Regions from separate parts of the Homo sapiens genome. Here region 1 is linked to region 2. The links are contacts of gene promoters, found by promoter capture Hi-C in blood cells and fetal thymus (Javierre and others, 2016). All regions are on one chromosome and are shown on one strand. Each heading gives the region's core, a stretch centred on a gene start or on the middle of the fragment in contact. The rest is flanking DNA. Distances are from core to core; before and after follow the strand shown.

The links. Contacts are between HindIII fragments. The CHiCAGO score rates a contact against its expected background, and 5 or more counts as called.
Region 1: a contact is called between a fragment that was not itself captured here and the fragment with the promoter of NAA35 in region 2, in 1 of 17 cell types (neutrophils). The highest score is 11.9, in neutrophils.

Annotation. Positions count from the first base shown.
Region 1 is chr9:94,161,771-94,164,838 of GRCh38, reverse strand. No RefSeq gene overlaps it. Among named protein-coding and RNA genes, the nearest start is that of MIRLET7A1HG, 3.0 kb to the left of the region's middle. The HindIII fragment of the contact is 1,761 bases long and covers 879-2,639 here.
Region 2 is chr9:85,939,024-85,942,468 of GRCh38, reverse strand. NAA35 (N-alpha-acetyltransferase 35, NatC auxiliary subunit) reads right to left here and starts at 1,323. Exons shown (of 23, transcript NM_024635.4): 1 at 1,196-1,323; 2 at 186-314. The coding sequence starts at 309. RefSeq lists a silencer at 740-1,419. The HindIII fragment of the contact is 5,629 bases long and covers 299-3,445 here.

The DNA of each region.
Region 1 (3,068 bases), core at 510-3,009, 8.2 Mb before region 2:
ATAATGATGAAGTAGGCTGAGGTGGGAAGAAAGCATTAGCAAATAAACCAGGATATTGTTGGATATCAGAGTTAAGAGGTACTGTGAGCCTCAATTAGAGGTTGGTAGTAGAGGCTGGTGGGCCAGTGTGTTTTAGAAGAAATAAGAAGCCTTATAGCACTATGAGCCCTTCTGACATTTTCTTCATATGTTCATCGGAAACTTCTTGGTGAGTTTGCAAAAGTGCATATGACATACATTACCCTTTACCTTCCTATCTGTGCTTCATTTTTTACCCTTGAAGGTCAACTAAATGACGCTAAAGTAGAATCCATTTGGAAAATGTTAATGGATTTGACAATATAAATGAAAACTGAATTTTAAAAACTTTGAAGTTAAAAGACAAAAATTGGAAATATTGTAAAAGTCTAAAAAAATCTCTAAGAGACAAAACATTAATTTGAATGTCCAGTGGTTAAAAGCAAGGATCTGGAACCAGACTACTAAGTGTGAATCCCAGTTCTGCCTCTTCCTAGCTGTACAACTATGTACCGGGCAAATTGTATATCTTTTCTGTGCCTCAGTTTCTTCATCTATAAAATAGGGATAACAATACTTACCTTACAGGCTGTTGAAAAGATTAATATAAACATCTTAAGAACTAAGAACAGTGCTTGGTACACATAAGTACTACATAAGCATTTGCTAATATGTTATCCTTAATAAAGTGGATTTTTTTTTTCAAATCAATAGGATAAAGTGAACACTCCTATTAAAATATGGACTGTTTAAAAAGGATGTGAACTGACAATTTACAAAAGAAAATGGCCAATAAATATGAAAAGATGCTCATCCTCACTAGTAATCAAATAAAGACAAAGTTTTAAACAATGAAAGCTTTCTTATCTCTTAGTTGATCAGTGGCATTGTAGAAGGAAACATTGGAGGCATTAGTATAAATTTCTGCAAGTCTAGGGGCCAATTTGGCAGCAAGAATCGGAATCTTTGAAAGTGTTCCTTAATCCAGCATTTTGCCACTGCTAGGAATTTATGCCTAGAAAATAACAGGACAAACATACAAAGATCCTCCACAGGCTGTTCATCATCTTGTTTATAGTAGCCTCAAATCACAACCATCTACCAGTACACCATAGGTGACTGCATAAATTACGGTCCAAACATGCCATGAAAAGGTATGATCGTGGCCAGGCGTAGTGGCTCACGCCTGTAATCCCAGCACTTTGGGAGGACGAGGCGGGGGGATCACTTGAGGTCAGGAGTTTGAGACCAGCTTGGCCAACATGGTGAAATCCCATCTCTACTAAAAATACAAAAATTAGCCGGGCGTGGTGGCGTGCGCCTGTAATCCCAGCTACTCGAGAGTCTGAGGTGAGAGGATCGCTTGAACCCAGGAGGCAGAAGCTGCAGTGAGCTGAGGTCATGCCATGGCACGCCAGCCTGGGTGACAGAGTGAGACTCCATCTCAATTGAAAAGAAAGAAGAATTTCAGCTTAAAATGTTCTTACTCCTTCAATAGAACCAAGATACTAATGGTTGACAAATATCTACAAGTCAAATCAAAGCATTTGTAAACAACAGGGGAAATAAAATTCATTGAGCTGGAACTTTGTCTTGCTCTCTCTTGTGCACCCAGTCACCACCACAGGGCCTAGCACCTGACAGGCATCCAAGAGATACAGACAAATAAGGCTGAGGCAGGAGAATCACTTGAACCCGGGAGGCAGAGTTTGCAGTGAGCTGAGATTGTGCCAGTGTACTCCAGCCTGGGCGACAGAGCGAGACTCCGTCTCAAGGGAAAAAAAAAGTTCTCATAGTAATGTAGATCTATGTTTATTGATACGGGAAGATTATCAGGATATACTATTTTTTTTTTTTTTTTTTTGAGACAGAGTCTTGCTCTGTCGTCCAGGCTGGAGTGCAGTGGCACGATCTCGGCTCACTGCAACGTTTGCCTCCCGGGTTCAAGCAATACCCTGCCTCAGCTTCCTGAGTAGCTGGGATTACAGGCTCCTGCCACCATTCCCAGCTAATTTTTGTATTTTTAGTAGAGACAGGGTTTCACCATCTTGGCCAGGCTGGTCTTGAATTCCTGACCTCGTGATCCACCCACCTCGGCCTCCCAAAGTGCTGGGATTACAGGCATGAGCCACAGTGCCCGGCCAGGATATACTATTAAGTGAGAAGTAAGGTTACAAAAAATTTGTTTGTCTTATAACAACAGTTAGATCTGGAATTACTCCTAACCTTTATTTTCTTTATATATATATCTGGATTCCTGGTAGTATGTATTGCTTTCATAACTAGGAAAAAATATAAAAATAAAAGCCATGCCAGTGACCGATAGTTGTTCCCCAATATCCAATGTCTCCTTTTTCTATAATAAACAGAAACCCAGTTTTTTGGTGATGGTAGACTTAAATTACTCCCTGACTGTACCTGTGTGACTAAGTTCTGGCTGGTGAGCTGTGAGCAGGATGGAAGGGGGTTCTGGATTCCCTCTGTCTCCCGCTTTCTGATTTCTAGCTACTTGGATGTGATTGGGGTGTGGTGGAGAGCCACTATGTCCACCAGTTGCAAGCAGCAGTGAAGAGCTAACCTGAGTCCCCTGGTAGCATCACAGGGCACCCTCTACACAAGCTTGGACTTTAAGTGAGAAAGACATGACTTCCATCTCATGTAAGCCCCTGAAATTTGGGTATACTTCTGCCGGAAGCTGGCCCGATGTGGTAGACATGCATGTAGGCATTTTGTGGAGAGAACATGCAGCCTTTGGAACAGAACAAACATGAGTGAATGTCCAGCAACTCCGTTTCCTAGGAACGGAGTTCCTTTGGATAGAGACTCCGTATTTCAGCTAGATCATACCTAGGAAAGTGATTTGGGATTGCTGAGTGATAAACAGCCTGGTTGTCATTAATGATCATTATTTGGCAAGGGTTAGGAAGAGCATGCATTTCGCTGTTTGTCTGGGGTCAAACAGAACAACCTGCTTGCAGAGCAAAGCAGCGCATGGTATTCCTTGGGTTCAAGTCCGAGCTTGCTCCCGTGTCCAGCCTGGGCCTCCCTCT
Region 2 (3,445 bases), core at 74-2,573:
TTAATGCTGTATCAAATATACATTTGCTTTAAAGTTAAAATTAGAGGATACAGAATAAGTGTGGCTAACAAACTCAACAAACCACATTTACCTGTTGATTTCATCTAATGAGGTAAGTTTAGAAAGCACAATCGTCATTCTACCCCTTCCAGATGCTGAACTTCTAATCCAAAAATCAGACTCACCTCGACAAGCTTCTTCAAAATCTTGGGTAATGTCCACCCAGTTTGTATTGCTTTTCTCCATTTTTTCTGGCATACTGAGCTCCCATCCTGAATCGTCATCATCTACAGAAGCTTTCATAACCATTATGCCTGTAAAATTAATACTGATGTAAGAGAGAGGATGTAGCTTTCAGGGCAAGAGTATTTGCAGAAATGGGTGTTTGTTTCAGCATAGGATGAAGTCTTAACTAAACTCTTTAAAGCAGAACTCTTCTGAGTCTAAGGACAGTACTGCAAAGAATAACCTTAATGCAATCAAATCGCACGTCAATTAACACTCCTGCTGCTTACTATTAGCCCACCACCTACCAGGGCCCATAAACATTTTGCCTTCCTACTGTTTAAGAAGAAAAATCACAAACCATCTCACCTCTGGCCCGAAAAGAACAACTCCAGAGCTTCCAACTTTCAATAATAGCCACAAAAGACCAAGGCACTATTCAGGGTCCCCTCTCGCAGCCCAGGACCCCATGCGGCAGCTACCGAAGTCAATCAAGGTAGCCCTTCATCTGGCCAGAGCTCGCTGGGACCTCTCCCGGGCCAGAGCCGGCCCGGACCCAGGCAGAACCTCGCCGGGAGCAATGAGGAGCCGGCAGGCACCGCAGGGTCCCGCCGGCCGGGCCTAGGGCCGAGGCACACCTGAGGCGGGCACACGCTTCCCTTCCGCCCTGCCCGGGTCAGCCCAGCCCAGCCCCGGTCCCACTGGGCGCATAAGCAAGGACAGAGCTGTCGCCGCGCGGGAGGGCGGGCACGTCCGGCGCCGGGTCGTCGCCTCGGCAACACCGGGCAAGAGTGGGGCCTCGGCCGACAGCGGGCACTGGGGAGCCCGCCGCTCCTACCTGACGCGCAGCGGGAGGGCCGGGGCCGCAGGGTGACCTGGGGTCCCCAGGATCTGCCACACGCGCGGGGGGCTGCGGCTCTCGGACACACGAGCGAGAGGGTTTCAATGGCTACGCAGGGGCGGTCCCTACCTACTTCTCCCGTGGTCACCCGCGCCGCCACGCACTGTCCGGACCACGGAAATAACGACGCCGCCTCGGCCGCCGCCGCCCCCTCCCCTCTCAGCCCAGCCCGACCGGCAGCGTGCACGCATGCGTATGCCCGGGACGCGCGACCCCGCCCCCTCTCCCTTACTCCCGGGGACTTCGCGCTCCCCGGCCACACCCCCTCCCTCGCCACCGCCTCCGTTCGGCCGATGGCGGCCGCCTTCTCTTCTCGCGAGATTAGAGACGATCGCGAGACCGGAAGTTATCTTTTTTCACCCTCTGTCGGAGTCCTGGGTAGTGGGCGGTTCCCGGAAAGAGGCGGAGCCCGGAGTCTCAGAGCCCGCCCCGTCTGCGCTGCCCTCTGGGAATTTCTTAGAAAGGTGACGCGAAGGCGGAAGGAAACCGTGGAGGTTTGCGTAGACCTTAGTGGTTGCGAGCACGAACGAGCAGCCAAGCTCCGAGAGCAACAGCGTGCTACTGCTGCCTGACAACGGATTTATGTTTCCTATACAGCGCCTGGGAGTTTCGTGAGGAAACATAGATTCAAAATATCTGCAAAGTCAAGCCAGACATTTAATTTCAGATTCTTATATGTTTTAGATTTTTTTAATTTATTAATAAAATGATCAGTTTTTAAATGGGGTTACATAAATAGACGGGCGCAGGTAAGAAGCACATCTTTATCACCACCTGTTCTTTAGGATGGCCCAAAATTAAAAGATGGAAAAGATAATACCAAATGTTGGCAAGGATGCAGAGCAACTGGACCTCTGTTATGTTGGTGGTGGTAATGCAAAATGGTACAACCACTTTGGAAAACTTAACAATCTCTCCTTATAATCATATACTTATCATTCGATCCAGTAATCTACGAATTTACTTAGGAACAAAAACATATTCATACAAAGGCTTGTACGTTAATGTTCATACCAGCTTTGTTTTGCTTTGTTTTTGTTTTTGTTTGAGACAGAGTGTCACTCTTGTCGCCCCTGCTAGAGTGCAGTGACCTGATCTCGGCTCATTGCAACCTCTGCCTTTCAGGTTCAAGCAATTCTCGTGCCTCAGTCTCCCGAGTAGCTGGGATTACAGGCGCCTGCCCCCACACCAGGCTGTTTTTTGTATTTTTAGTAGAGATGGGGTTTCACCATGTTGGTCAGGCTGATCTCAAACTCCTGACCTCGTGATCTGCCCACCTCAGCCTCCCAGAGTGCTGGGATTACAGGTATGAGCCACCGTGCCTGGCCCAGCTTTGTTTTTAATCATCAAAAACTACAGACAACCCAAATGTCCATCAACTGTTGAATAAAAACAATTTGTGGCATATCCATACAATGTAATGAATGTAATTATCAATAAACAGGGATAAACTACTTGACATACAACATGAATGAATTTCAAAAATATATTGAGTAAAAGAAATCAGGCTGAGCTTGGTAGCTGGTAGCTCATGCGTGTAATCCCAACACTTTGGGAGGCTGGCAGTGGAGAGGTCGGGTTGGAGACTAGCCTGACCAATATGGTGAAATCCTGTCTCTACTAAAAATACAAAAAAATTAGCCAGGCATGGTGGCGTGCGCCTGTAATCCCAGCCACTTGGGAGGCTGAGACAGGGGAATCCCTTGAACTCAGGAGGCAGAGGTTGCTGTGACCCGAGATGGTGCCATTGCACTCCAACCTGGGCGACAGAGTAAGAAATCAAATGCAAGAGTATGATTCCCCAAGTGAGACCCCAGGCTCTTAAAAGACATCTATAGTGACAGAAGACAGATTAGTGGCTGCTCAGGGCTCAAGAAGAGACTAAGTTGGATAGAGCTTGATTTGAAGTGATGTAAATATTCTGTTTTCGATTAAGGTAGTGCCTGTGTGGGTGAATACATTTGTAAAATTTCACTGAAGTATATACTTACAATGTGTACATTTTATTGTTTGTAAACCGAACTTCACAAAAATTGGTTTAAAAAATTTTTAAATGGCCGGGCGTGGTGGCTCACGCCTGTAATCCCAGTCCTCTGGGAGGCTGAGACGGGTGGATCACATGAGGTCAGGAGTTCAAGACCAGCCTGGTCAACTTGGCGAAACCCCATCTCTACTAAAAATACAAAAATTAGCCGGGCGTGATGGCGTGCACCTGTACTCCCAGCTACTCAGGAGACTGAGGCAAGAGAATCGCTTGAACCTGGGAGGTGTAGGTTGCAGTGAGCCGAGATCATGCCACTGCACTCCAGCCTGGGCAAC